Regions from separate parts of the Homo sapiens genome. Here region 1 is linked to region 2. Evidence: promoter capture Hi-C in human tissues and cell types (Jung and others, 2019). All regions are on one chromosome and are shown on one strand. The core of a region is centred on a gene start or on the middle of the fragment in contact, and the rest is flanking DNA. Distances in the headings are between cores, read along the strand shown.

Region 1 (7,473 bases), core at 2,633-5,132, 350 kb after region 2:
GTTTTCCCACCTGTGAAATGAGGGAAAACAGTACTGATCTTCACTGTAGATAGACTGAGTTTTTTTACTTTGTTTTGTTTTGAGACAGAGCCTCACCCTGTTACCCAGGCTGGAGTGTAGTGTCATGATCTCAGCTCACTACAACCTCCCCTCTGCCTCCCAGGCTCAAGCAATTCTCGTGCCTCAGCCTCCTGAGTCGCTGGGATTACAGACGTGCACCACCATGCCTGGCTAATTTTTGTATTTTTAGTAGGGACAGGGGTTTCACCATGTTGGCCAGGCTGGTCTTGAACTCCTGATCTCATGTAATCCACTGGCCTTGGCCTCCCAAAGTGCTGGGATTACAGGCGTGAGCCACCACGCCTGGCTGGTAAAGTGGTTTTAACTACAGTATAAAGCTCTTAGAACTAAGAACAGTACTTGAAATAGTGTTCGATAAATGCTATTAAGTATTCAGGAGCACAAAATGGATCCCATAAAGGTAATTCAAAGGACCACAAAAATCAGTGTTTCTGTGTTTTGTTTTTTAAAACATGCTTCCTTCCCTTTCTCCAACACACAAGCAGTGAAGTAGAGAGACACCCATAGCCCGAGTGAGAAGACACCCAAACACCAAATTAGAAATGACTTCACAATCAGCCCCGGAGTCAAAGCCGATTCTCGGACCAGTCCCATCCCACAGCAGCCTGCCTCCTCTTTCGACATCACAGAGGCTGCTGTGTCCTTCGCCAAGGACTCCCTGGCAGGTGGAGTGGCCGCAGCCATCTCCAAGATGGCGGTAGCACCCATCGAGCGGGTCAAGCTGCTGCTACAGGTGCAGCATGCCAGCAAGCAGATCACTGCAGATAAGCAATACAAGGGCATTAGAGACTGCATGGTCTGTATTCCCAAGGAGCACGGAGTCCTGTCCTGGTGCGGTAACCTGGCCAGTGTCATCAGATACTTCCCCCACCCAGGCTCTTAACTTCACCTTCAAAGATAAATACAAGCAGATCTTCCTGGATGGTGTGGACAAGAGATCCCAGTTTTGGCGCTACTTTGCAGGGAATCTGGCATCAGGCGGTGCCACTGGGGCCACATCCTTGTGTTTTGTGTACCCTCTTGATTTTGCCCATACTCGTGTAGCAGCTGATGTGGGCAAAGCTGGAGCTGAAAGGGAATTGCGAGGTTTCGGTGACTGCCTAGTTAAGATCTACAAATCTGACGGGATTAAGAGCCTGTACCAAGGCTTTAACGTGTCTGTGCAGGGTATTATCTACCGAGCTGCCTGCTGCCTACTTCGGTAACTATGACACTGCAAAGGGAATGCTTCCGGATCCCAAGAACACTCACATTGTCATCAGTTGGATGATGCACAGACTGTCACTGCCGTTGCTGGGTTGACTTCCTATTCATTTAACACCATTTGCTGCTACATGATGATGCAGTCAGGATGCAAAGGAACTGACATCATGTACACAGGCACATTTGACTGCTGGAGGAAGATTACTCATGATGAAGGAAGCAAAGCTGTTTTCAAGGGTGCATGGTCCAGTGTTCTCAGAGGCATGGGTGGTGCTTTTGTGCTTGTCTTGTATGATGAAACCAAGAAGTACATGTAAGTTATTTCCTAAGATTTTTCCCCCTTTGAACAGGCATGTTGTATTATATGACATATCTTGAGCATTCTTTTTTTTTGAGACGGAGTCTCCCTCTATTGCCCAGGGTGGAGTGCAGTGGCACAATCTCGGCTCACTGCAACCTCCACCTTTTGGTGGAGCAATTCTCCTGCCTCAACCTTTTGGTTCACCTTTTGGGTGATTCACCTTTTGGGTTCAAGCAATTCTCCTGCCTCAACCTCCTGAGTAGCTGGGACTACAGACATCCGCCACCACTCCCGGCTGTTTTTTTTTTTTTTGTATTTTTAGTAGAGATGGGGTTTCAACATATTGGCCAGGCTGCTCCTGAACTCCCGATCTTGTGATCCACCCACCTGGGCCTCCCAAAGTGCTGGGATTACAGGCGTGGGCCACCGCGCCCGGCTATCTTGAGCATTCTTGACAGACTCCTCGCTGTCAATTTATCAGTGGCAACTATTCACTGGTTGGAAATGGGAAGCAATAATAGTCATCTGACCAGTTTTCTCTTAAAGCCATTTCTATGATGATGATGATGATGGGACTCAATTATGTTTTTTATTTCAGTCACTCCTAATAAATAACAAATTTGGAGAAATAAAAATATCTTAAGAAAAGAAAAAAGAAAAGAAAAGAAAGGCTTCACACCATGGAATGACAAGTGCTCAAATGGCTCTCAGTAAGTGCTCACGGGGACACCACTGTCAGAGTGGTGAGCAATCATCTACCACAAAATGGAACAAAGCAGCAGAGGTACGTAGGAAGCAGGTGAGAACATACAACCTCTAAGGCCCATATAAATCTGTCAAGAAAACTTTCTGGAGGAAGGAAAGATAGAAGAAAGACCTGGATATCAGCATTTGGTAACGTCTACTTCGATCTTCCTGACAACTACATTCAAACTGACCTGAGTGTGCTGGCCCCAAGCACATCATCCAGCTTGAGTTTCAATGCTGGTTGGGAGAAAAGGAAATTGAGGGCAAGTCAGAGCCCAGAAAGGAGCGCAATTTAGAACTGCACAGCGGGGGAGACTGAGTTTGAGTGTAGGAAACGGGAAAGGGGGCGTGTGGGGTAAAGAGGTGAGCGCAGTGGAGTCAGGCCTTAGTGAACAAGTGTGCTTGAAGGTGGAGATGGGCACCCCTCTGGCTGAGTCTGCTCCAGTAGAGAGCTCAGGGGCCAGCAGCAGGCACCGCAAGGAGCAAAGCAACTGGTGTAAGCCCCACAGCTTCCTGCGACCAACAGTGCTTTGTTGTGCCCAGGCATCTGTTCAGTCCCATCTTTTATTTTAAGACAGGATCTGGCTCTGTTACCCAGGCTGGAGTGCAGTGGTACAATCTGAGCTCACTGCAGCCCAAACTCCTGGGTTCAAGCAATCCTCTTACCATCGCCTCCCAAGCAGCTGGGATTATGGGTGCACACCACCATGGCCCACTAATTTTCTACTTTTTGTAGAGATGGGGTCTCACTATGTTGCCCAGTCTTGTCTCAAACTCCTGGGCCACCTCAGCTTCCCAAACTGTTGGGATAAGAGGCATGAGCCACTGCACCTGGCCTCAATTTTTTCAATTTTGTTTTTAAAAGCAGACATCTCCCTGGTTGGAGCAAGGAGGAAACATGGCTTTAGAAAGTTTCCAGGTCCAAGGAGAAGCCCCACAACAGTTTGAGATCTTTCCAGAATGATCCACACTCGACCTCCTCATCCCTCTTACCAAAGAGCGACACCTTGTTCGTGGAAGTAGGAGGAGATACACACCCAGTACCTGTCCTCATCCAACAAAGTCGCAGGCACCCAAGGGCAGCCACGCTGCCACCGAAGGCCCCCGGCTGCTCACAACCGCCGGTCAGCTCCGGCCTCTCTTCGAAGGACACACGCGTCTCGCACCCCCTCCCCGCCCCGCCCTGAGGAGACATGCGTCTGGGCCCCGCGCCTTGAAAAGGCGCATTCCCACCCCCACCCCTCAAACGCGCGAGGCCACGCGTTCCGGCCTCCGCCACCTCCACATGCCGGAACACCAGTGAGGGGCGCGCGCTCCCAAAGGTCGGGGGCGGAGCTAAGAGCGCCGCGCCCAAAAAAGGCGGCAAAGTCCCTGACTCGCTGAGAGTTTGCGAGCCGCCATGTCTATCTCATTCGTCTCCTCTCCTCCGACAGCACGCCGTGCTTCCCCTCAGGCACCTTTCACCGTTAGGGATGAGGGCTCCGCGGCGGTTCTCGGTGTGGCTCTGATTCACCGCCATCTTGCTTCGGGCCTCCTGCCGCCCCGTAGATGGAAAGGGGCGGGACCTGCGCCGAGCTGTGGGGCGCGGTTCTGAAGGGGAGGGCGGAGATTATGACGTAAGGAGGAGGAGGAGGAGGAGCGAGACCGGGTCACGTGGTGGGGCAGTGCCCGGGGAGCGGGGCGGAGTCAGGGTAGAGGCCCCCGCCGAGAAAGGGGAGAAAGAGGCGGGCCCTGAGAATTGGCTCGAGCGCGAAGGGGTGAGTGATAGGTGAGTGGCCTCCCGACCTCACCTGCCCCCTTAGCCCCCTGCCTTTAGGTATGGACTTGGGTTGGTCCTGTCAGGAATGATCTCAGCTCACTGCACCTCCAACCTCCCATGCTCAAGCCATCTTCCCACCTCAACCTCCCATCCATTACTCACTTTGGTTATGAAACACTAGAAAATAATGACTGAGGCCCGACCTGACGCCAACTGAAGATGAACTGACCTCACAAAGTGTTTTCATCTCTAATATCTGTGGCTATTTCTTACCAAGAGAGTCTCACCCTCCACACATGGGTGAGATGACATAATGGCTGATTTGGTCAAGGAGCACAAATAAGACAGGCCAGGCAGTTACTGTTCAAACAGCAATGTTTAGTTGTACAACACATAAAGTCTAGCAACAATTACAGGACCAGTTTGAGTGTCTGTTTGCTTGTTTTCAATTGGGAAATTTAACTGTAATGTCACCGTAAGATTGGCTGGGACTGGTAACATTTAAGAAACGGGTTGTTCTTGCATCCCCTAGGCGTGGGCCTCTTGCTCCATCAGGACTTGGTTGTAGATGAATGGCCCACAAGTCACCAGCCTTTGAGCAAGTTGTGTCCAGGTGGAGACAGGAAGAGGGTGGGCAAAGGGGAATTCTATAAAGACACAGTGTGTGGGGCAGTGGCAGTCAACATTCGCAAACATTCATGCATCTGATGGGGGGCTTTGCCCTCCCTTGGGTATTTTCCATTAGCCTACAGTGACCACCTGTGGTCAGGCTAATTCATTACTCACATTAATGGGGAAGGGGGTTGGGGGTAGGAGTAGGTAGGGTAGGTGGGAAGAGATCCCTCTTATTGCTGAGTGGACAGAAGGGTGCTAGTTTTTCCTTAGCGTGTACATATTGTGGGTTTCTGGGGGTTTGTGTGTGTGTTTAGTTTTTGTTTGTTTGTTTGGACAGAAGAAAGTCAACTCCAGCAATGTCTTCTTAGGAAAACCACTCTTCCTCAGTGGCTGCGTTATGAGGTGGGGAGGATGTACAACCGCACTCTGGGACAGCCACAAGTGGTGATTTTTTAAAAAGTGATCCTAGCCCTTGCTCCCCAACATCTGTAGTGACCCACCCTCATGAATATCTTTAAGTAATGAAGGAGACACCCTTGTCCCACTTTGGGGCTCACACAGCTGATCTCAATGAATCTAGTAAGCAGAAAAATTGCTTTCTTGACCCTTTAAGGAAGCCAAGAGTAGCTCATGCAGATGAATGGGTAGGGAGCAATGCCATTGCCCTTAGAGATGGTTACAAGTAGCTGGGATGGGCTTACAAGGGCAGAAGGAGCTCTTGATGAGTTCTTTCACCCTGCAGATGGGCTAGGACCGGCTGACGCAGATGATGCAGTAGGGCTGTACTGGCAGAACCCCACTCCACTGGGAGGAGAGGAGTGGTTTGGATAAATGGAGGATGCAACTGGCCTAAAGAGGCAGCTGGCCCCTCCCACCTACTGAGGGCTGAGAGGGGCTGTGGTGGTGAGCTGGACGAGCACAGCACTAAAAAGGGCTTGGCCCTGCAGCAATAACAGCTGAGAGGAATGGAGTGAGAAGCAGCGCTTGAAATGGCCTTCATTCAGCAGTGGGGCAGGGGGTGGCTGGCACAGGTGGAAGGACAGTGCCCAGGAGGCCTTCTCCCTGCAGGGGGGTTGAGAACGGTTGAGGGTGTGGAGACCAGCAGCTGGCAGCAGACATATAAAATACCTTCTCCAGGGAGGCTCAGATCATGGTTCAGGGGTGCCAGGCACCATTCCTACTCAGCCTTTCCAACGCCCACCTCCCATGCCCATAGATCTTCCCCTGCTGGTCCAAGGTCTCCATACAGGACTGCTTCTACAGTAGCCAAGGATCCCTGTTCTGTTGAAATGTATAACCTCTGGGCTGTAGCGCTGCTGCTGTTCTGTCCTGACAGGTGCCTACCCTGTAACTTTGTGAGCAAGGGAGGATGAGGGCTGGGTTGGCAGCCTCCAGGAAAGACCGAGAGCATAGGTTGGGGTCACTGGTGACCTGATCACCGCCCCCCTTTCTCCTGGTCCATTGAATCTTGGGTCTTGAGTCTATGTTTTTTTTCCTAGCACCTGAGTGATAAAAGACTGGGATTATAAGTGCTGGGATTCATAGAGGACCAGTGAAACACCTAGGCTGAACCAGGAGATGGGACAGAAGGTTGTATGAGGTTATTGTAAACAGTTTCACTTAGTGTTTTCCCTTCCCTAAGGCTAAACTGTTTCCCTGGCCCCGAATTTCATGAATCTTACAGATTAAAGGAAAAGAGTAACTTACTTGTACAACAAGCAGGGGAAATATATGCATTAATAAATACAGGGCTTCAGGGAAAGGCAAGAAAAGCCTAAATGTATGACGGTGGGTATCATTGGGAATGTCTACAGGAGTCAGGAGGAGAGGGAATTAGGGAAAAGTAGAGAAAGACAGACATAAATATGATTAGCTTCAGCACAAAAGTGATGGGGAATAGAAAAGAGAGGTCAAGTATGTATGAAGCAAATGGAGCAACAGAGAAGCCTGCTTAGAAGGGAGAGAAGTCTGACGGAGAAAACGGAGGTGTGGTCAAAAATTTGTCTTTGAAGCCAAATTACTAAGAAAGACAAATTATGTATATTGTTTCTGATACTTCTTTAGAATTAGTTCTAGAACCTGATGTCCCAATAAAAGGTTGTCTCACATGACTAGCATGTGTGCTTCCTTTAACTGGACACTGGGAACTGCATAACTCACTGTGTTTCCCTCTTTACATTGGCTGCCTGTGAGCTCAGGGCCTGTTCAGGTGCTTGACTACAGAAACTTTCTTTCCTATTCCTTTCTTTGACCCAGATTTCTCTGGCAATCTGTTTGTACTGTCCTGTAGTTTTGTGATTTTATGTGAAAGGCAGTCTAAAGTCATTTCTGGAAGTAGACTGGGCATAAATGCTAAATATAGGAATGAACCTAAAGTAGATTCATCTAAAAGGAAGTGAGAGATGTCAGAGACACGCAGGAGAGGGAGAGAAAGCAATGTATGAGGGAAGGAGGGAAAGGGAGAAAGAAGACAAAGTCGGAAGCAGAGACAGGCAGTGGCCTGGCAGCAGAGGCCAGTTGAGTGGAGAGCAGCAGTAGGCTCTGGTGACAGGTGGTAGCTTTGTGACACTGAACACGACACAGACTGAAGGGTGGAGCTCCATTTGTAGGCACTGATGCTTTCTGCAAGAACCCAGCTCTGGCCTACTTCTCTGCCTTCTCATGGCCTTCCTTTTCCCAGGAAGCCCCAGCCTTACCCCCAGACCACCCCCAACTTACAGGAGGGTTGTCCTGAACTCCCTGCCCCCTACTCAGGTCTAGCTCCACT
Region 2 (7,201 bases), core at 3,907-6,406:
CTGGGCTCACGGGATCCTCCCACCTCAGCCTCCTTAATAGCTGGGACTACAGGTGTGCACCACCATGTCCCACTATGATTGTTACATATTTCTATGTCATTTAAAATAAAGTCACTATCAAAAAAAACTGGCCAACCACAGTGGCTCATCCCTGTAATCCCATCACTTTGGGAGGCTGAGGCGGGAGGATCACTTGAGCTCAGGAGTTCAAGACCAGCCTGGGTGACATACGGAGAGCCCGTCTCTACAAAAAATTTAAAAATTAGCCAGGTGTGGTGGTGTGCACCTGTAGTCCCAGCTATTCAGGAGGCTAAGGTGGGAGAATCCCTTGAGCCCAGGAGTTTGAGGTTGCAGTGAGCTATGATTGCACCGCTGCACTCCAGCCTGGGCAACAGAGAGAGAACCTGTCTCTAAAAAGTGTTTTTTTTTAAATTTTTTTTAATTAAATGAACTAAAAGAAAAAATTCCTGGTCCAGCCACATCCCCTGGTTTGGGTTCCAGCAAAGACTACTAGAGTGGCGACCCCCTGCTGCTGAGGCCCACTGGGGAAGGGAGCTAGGGGCAGGGCATCTGGGGTGGGAAGTGTGGCAGGAGCAAGGGCACAGAGCAGAGAAGAGTGTGCGGGATGGGATGGGAGTGAAGGAACCGGGCGGGCGCAGGGGAGGCTGCAAAGCCAAGTGGACTGGCCCTGGAGGGTCTCATGGGCCTGGCTGGAGCATCTGGACTTTGTTCAGAGAGCAGTAGGGAGCAATCAAAGGTTTCTGAGCTGAAGAATGACCAAGCTGTGCTGATTTTAACTGTTGGCACCATGGAGGACAAATGAGAAAAGGCACCTGGTTTGATGGCAGGAGGCTTTGACCAGGTAGGGGCTGTGGAGACCTGACCTCGGCAATTGGATGTCAAGGGAGATGGACATGGGAAGTGTCATGGGGTATGAGGATGGACTTAATAAGTGGGGGTGGCACTGCTTGCTGGGGTCTCAGAGTCAGCCTCTCAGAGTCAGCCATACCAGATGTGCTCCTCCTACAGTGCTCCCGACCTCAGAAATGTCCCATCCTCACCTGGCCCTTCACACCACCAAAACCTGGTGCCATCCTGGGCTCCCTCTCCCTCACATTGTTGCCATCCCCAAGTCACTTTGATTTTGGCTCCCAAATTTCTCTGAAGTGTGCCCCTCCCCTCCTCCAGTGCATCCTCTGTCCAAGGCCGGGCCCTGCCTCTCCAGGCCTGGACTAAGGCCATGGCCTCTATCCGGCCTCAGGTCTCCAGCCTGGTACTGCTGGTCCATCCCCTGCAGAACAACCAAAGGGATCATTCTAGAATCTGCGTCCAGCTCACCCCCTCCTCATCCTCGTGGCTTCCTGATTCGTGGGGTGGATGTCCACTCCCCCAACAACTCACCCCTCCTAAACACCATCAACCTCTCACTGAGCTACTTGCCCCTGCTTCACACATAACGTTGACTGTGCATCCGCTTTGCACTGGCCCCATGATTGTGTCAAACGCTGGGAACTGGGAGAGGACTGAGACTGAGAATCAGTTACAAGGGTGTAGGATCAGGCAAGGCCCCTCTGCGGACCAGCACGCTGAGCTGAGTTCTGGAGGATGAGCAGGACAAAGGGAAGAGTATTGCAGGAAGAAGCAACAGCCAGAGCGAAAGGCCCACGGCAGCAGGCAGCTGGACCCAGTGGAGGGAGCCCTGACCACCTCAGCATGTCGGCTCCTGGCATCCCTGCCCCCATTGTGTCTCATTGTCCCAGGATGGTGGCTTCGGAGGGGCAGGGTCTGAGCCTGGGCAGAGAGCAGGGCTGGCTCCCAGGCGCCTGTGGAATACACTGAGGTGTGGGGGACCCTATTTTTTGAAAAAACAGTTTTATTGGTCAGGCATGGTGCCTTACATCTGTAATCACAGCACTGTGGGAGGCCAAGGTGGGAGGCTTCCTTGAGCTCAGGAGTTTGAGACAGGCTTGGGCAACATAGTGAGAACTCTTCTCTACTAAAAATTTAAAAAATTAGCCAGGTGTAATGATGCATGCCTGTAGTCTCAGCTACTCACAAGGCTGAGGCGGGAGGATCACTTAAGCCCAAGAGTTCGAGGCTGCAGTGAGCTGTGATCGCAACGCTGCACTGTAGCCTGAGGGACAGAACAAGACTGTCTCTAAATAAATAAATAATAAACGGTTTTATTAAGATAAAAGTCACATACCATGTAATTCATCCTTTTAAGGCACATAATTCAGTGGTTTTTAATAATCACCAATATCTAATTCCAAAACATTTTAATAATCTCCAAAAGAAACTCCATATCCATTAGAAATCACTCTCCAATATCCCCTCTTCTCCAGCCCCTGGCAACCGCTAATCTACTTTCTGTCTGTATGGATTTGCCAGTTTTGGACATTTTAAATGAATGGACTCCAGACAATATGTGTCTGGCTTCTTTCACTTAGTATAGCGTGTTTTAAGATTCATCATGTAGTAGCATGAATGGGTACTTCACTCCTTTTTATGGCTGAATAATATTCCCCTGTATGGATATGCCACATCTTATTTATCCATTCATCCGTGAGTGGACATATGGGTTGTTTCTACTTTCTGGAGATCATGAATAATGATGCTGGGGCCAGGCATGGTGGTTCATGCCTGTAATATCAGCACTTTGGGAGGCCAAGGCAGGTGCATCACCTAAGGTCAGGAGTTCGAGACCAGCCTGACCAACATGGTGAAACCTCATCTCTACTAAAAATACAAAAATTAGCTGGGTGTGGTGGCACATGCCTGTAATCCCAGCTACTAGGGAGGCTGAGGCAGGAGAATCACTTGAACCTGGGAGGCAGAGGTTGCAGTGAGCCGAGATTGCGCCATTACACTCCAGCCTGGGCAACAAGACTGAAACTTCATCACAGTAAAGGAAAAAACAAAAACAAAAAAACTGCTGGAAACATTTGTGTTCAGGTTTTCATGTGGACATATACTTTCCCTTCTTTTCGGTGTGTATACCTAGGAGTGAAGCTGCTAGGTCATAGAATAACTCATTTTTTAATGTTTTGCTAAATGGCTAGATGGTTTTCACAGTGGCTGCACCATTTTATATCCCCACCAGCAAAGCACACGTATTCCAATTTCTGCAAATATTCACCAACACGTGTTATTGCTTGTCTTTTTGATATCCCAGTGGGTATTAAATGGCATCTCATTGTGATTTTGACTAGTGACTAATGATGTCAAGCGTTTTTTTTTTTTTGAGACAGGGCTTCACTCTGTCACCCAGGAAGTGATGTGATCTCGGCTCACTGCAACCTCCACCTCCTGGGTTCAAGTGATTCTCCTGCCTCAGCCTCCCAAGTAGCTGGGATTACAGGCGCCCACCACCACACCCAACTAATTTTTGTATTTTTAGTGGAGACAGGGTTTCACCATGTTGGCTAGGCTGATCTCAAACTCCTGACCTCAGGTGATCCGCCCACCTTGGCCTCCCAAAGTGCTGGGATTACAGGCGTGAACCACTGCACCTGGCCATTTGAATATCTTCTTTGGAGAAATTCTATTCCAATCTTTTGCACATTTAAAAATTGGTCTATTTGGGCTGGGCGTGGTGGCTCACCCCTGTAATCCCAGCACTTTGGGAGGCCGAGGCAGGTGGATCACAAGGTCAGGAGTTCGAGTGAAACCCTGTCTCTACTAAAGATACAAAAAATTAGCCAGGTGTGGTGGCACGCGCCTGTAATCCCAGCTACTCAGGAGGCTGAGGCAGAAAATTGCTTGAAGCCGGGAGGCAGAGGTTGCAGTGAGCCAAGACTGTGCCACTGTACTCCAGCCTGGGCAACAGGGCGAGACTCAGTCTCAGAAAAAAAAAAAAAAAAAAAAAAAATTGGTCTACTTGTCCTTTGATTGTACATTGTAAGAATTCTTGGTGCTTCTGGATACAAGTCCCTTGCTGGGGGAAGGAGCTGGGATACCAGGCCAAGGAGCCAGGCCCTGGGGCTGCCTGGGCTCTGCTCTCCCAGTCCTCTGGCTGTGGGCTCAGGGGTCTCATGGAGGGGGTCCAGTGTCCCCTGGGAGGGAGGATATCTGCCCCATGAGTCACCTCCCACCTCCAGTTCCCCCACTCCCTCTGCCTCTATTGGGCTTCAGACACCGCAGCGTGAACACTTCACAGGGCCTATGGTGTCCCCTGACCCCCGACCAAGGCTCAGGTCTGGCAGCTGGTTTTGATAACCGGGGAAAGCAGAAATGCTAGATCCTTTCATAGGTGACTACAGAGAAGCTGCCACCTGCTTCACAACCGCCAGTGTGACAGATCAGCCACCTCTGCGGCCTGGAGGTCCAGCCCAAGGCTTATGGGGCAGGCTGCGGGAGGGAAGCCTGCCAGGGCAGCCACCGCCCCCTTACACCAGGCCCTCCCTTGCCCTGCTTATTTAAACTTCTTGAACTTTCCATAGTTTGTAAGTTGAGCTCCTATAACTTTGAGAATCAAGGGAAATGTGAAAAAACAAAACCCAACTGCAGCCGCTGGCTGATTCGGCTCAGACATTTGGGGGAATCTTTCTCTGGGGCTGCCCAAAGCCAGTGGCTGGGCTGCAAACACAGGAGCGGTGCTGGCTGTATCTGTCACATGGGGTCTCACCTCCTCCTATAAGCCTGAGGCCTCATGTCATTGGCGGGTCACTGTCGTTCACAGGCACCCCTTCTGCGTGCGGGGGCCCTGGGCCATTGCAAAGGCAGCACGATGCAGCCCCTGTCCCAGGGCATGAGGTACAAAGTGGTAAAGGGACTTGTGACGGTTAAGGGAGGTGAACCCAGGTGCAGCTCTGGGGCCCAAGTGTGGCTTCCAGAAGCTGGGGAGGGATCTCCAGGTGAGAGAGTTCTCAATTTCCCTTCAAGGAAGGTTAGGACTTCAACACAGCGGTAAGGATCTTGCAGACAAAAAGAACGACCAAGTGCGCAAAGGCTTGGCACATGGGGAGCCCTGCCACGGGAGCCCATAGCCAGGGGGCCCGCGCTAGTGGAGGGCCGTTATCTAGGAATGAAGAGGAGCAGAGCGGGAGAAGCCAGCTGGGCTGACTGTCCCTGGGCCCCAAGTGCTGGACTGAGAACCATGTTTACCTCCTAGCTACACCTCCTCAATGATGCTACTAAGTACTAAAGAGCACTCAGCCCCTTCCTAGACTTTGCCCCGCCCCTGGGTCCCCATCACCTCCCCTCAAGACCTGCTGGTCCCATCTTCCAGGAGACATTCTGTGTTGAGACAGCATTTTTTGACTTTGCCTCTGCAGGATTGGGCCTCCGGCAGGCTCCTCGCTCCTGCGGCGCCCCAGCTGGGCCTGCCACCCGCCACCTGCCACCCGCCCACGTGGAGCCCCCTCTGCCCCTGCTGGCGCTGCCTCGGCTTTGGCAGGCTGTGGGCCCTGAGGCCTCTCTGCTCACTGATTATGCAGCAGCCGGTGGGCTCGGGAGCCAGAGCGAGAGATTTATTGTGGTTTTTAGGGGGCGTTTAGGAGCCGACGTGATAATGTCTGTGAACGCACTTTGTAAACTGTAACGGGGGAGTGCTGTGCACACGTGAGGGCCTGGGGCTGGGGCTGCGGACGGGAGCCCAGCCCCCAGATGACATCCTGGGGCTCAGTCGGCAAGCCCCTTCAGTCCCAGTGGGTGGCACGAGGGTGGGAATCCCAGGCTGCATCTGCTGGAGCAGGGCCTCCCTGGGCCTGTGGGGGCTGGGACGTCTGTGTCACCAGGCAGCTCTGGAATGAGCTGTGAGCCAGAAAATTGCCCAGGTCCCTCCCTCGCCCGAGAAACCCCGTTGCACTGCCGTGAAAGTGACATGCTTCCTGGCTGTAGAGGGGACCAACTCCAGGCCTCCTCACCCCTGCTGTGGGGAGACGGAGAGAAGGGGACCACAGCTGGACGGGGCTGTCTTCCAGGAAGGGGAGCTACGCACAGGCAGGGGCTCCGCCATCCCAGCCTTCTAGCTAACTGTTACTATCTGAGAATCCTTATTCAGTGGCATATATTTGTTGAGCACCTACTATGCGCTTTGCACTCTTCTAGATGCTAGCGGTCTAGCAGGGATCAAGACAGACGAAAATCCCCACACTCATGGACCCTGGGTGAGGGAGGGCAAAGACAGACAACTCACAGGTGAAGAAGGATGACTATAGATAATGGTCGTTACCATAGAAACAGGAAAACTGGGAATGACTGAAGCTAGGGGGTCAGGAAAGGCCTCTCTGAGGGACCCTCATCCCTCTCTCCAGGTGGTACCCGTCCATGGCTTCTGGAACAATCTGGGCCCCGAGAGGCTCAGCTGGTCCCCCAGCCACCTGCCTAGGCAGCCCTGGGGCTCTCAGACTGCACGAGGGGCTGCTCTGGGTCCGGTGCCCCATCTGGCCACTGTTGGGGCTGTAGTCAGGGTCCCCAACTGAGCTGTCTTCATTTCACTGGAAAGCTGGTGAGGGGCAACGGGAGGGTGAGGCTCAGGTGTAGCTGGAGAGCAGCTGCGGTAGGCGCTGTGCCCCCACTTCACAGCTGAGGAGACTGAGGCCTGCCTAGAGGTGCCAGCTGGTAGAGGTAGAATTTGAACGTAGGTCTGTCTGATTATTTTCTGAATGAAAAATCAGGTCCACGGTCTCCTGGGGACAGCAGGAGCATCTCCTCGAGCTTGGGACTGGTTGCCTTTATAATCTCGAGAGTAATGAGAAGCAAACTAGTGCTGTTTGAGTGTTACTGGTGCCAGGTGCTGTTCTAAGTACAGAACCTGAGTTATCTAATTTAAGCCCCAGCACAACCTGATAAGGTGAGAACTGTCATTAATAGCCCCACTTTACAGACAGAGCAACTGAGGCCAGTAAGGTTAGGTAACTTGCCCAAGGCCACACAGAGCAGAGCTGGATGTGAACCCTCCAGGGTCCATGTGTTTAGCTGCTCCTTTTTCCTGTTTCCACCTTCAAGGTCACAGGTCTTAGGCCTTGGGATTGTCAGATTGTGCTGAGGTCCCAACCATGCATGGTCCTGTCACCCTCATTACAGTCTCTTGAGTCTGTTGGTTTTATAATCCCCTCTACTGTTTTTACAGATGAGGAAACTGAGGCCTCGAGCAGGTGAGTCACAGCTAGGTGATCGGGAAGTCAGGATGTGAACCCAGACCAGCTCAGAGCTGGAGCATTAACTGCCTGGTTCTCCCTCTTCCTTGCCCATCATC

What was found. The method cuts DNA at HindIII sites, captures the fragments that hold promoters and counts their contacts. A contact is called where the count stands out against the background at its distance.
Region 1: the fragment with the promoter of WBP2NL here is called in contact with a fragment that was not itself captured in region 2 in 1 of the 25 tissues and cell types used here (spleen).

What each region holds. Positions count from the first base shown.
Region 1 is chr22:41,995,197-42,002,669 of GRCh38, reverse strand. It overlaps WBP2NL (WBP2 N-terminal like), which reads right to left and starts at 3,882. Exons shown (of 6, transcript NM_152613.3): 1 at 3,790-3,882. The coding sequence starts at 3,851. It overlaps SEPTIN3 (septin 3), which reads right to left. Exons shown (of 12, transcript NM_001363845.2): 12 at 4,449-5,768. The coding sequence ends at 5,703. It also overlaps the pseudogene SLC25A5P1. RefSeq lists enhancers at 767-1,966, 3,301-3,815, 3,816-4,332 and a silencer at 3,930-3,989. The HindIII fragment of the contact is 18,305 bases long and covers 1-7,473 here.
Region 2 is chr22:42,345,901-42,353,101 of GRCh38, reverse strand. No RefSeq gene overlaps it. Among named protein-coding and RNA genes, the nearest start is that of LINC01315, 20 kb to the left of the region's middle. RefSeq lists an enhancer at 1,005-1,505. The HindIII fragment of the contact is 5,764 bases long and covers 2,275-7,201 here.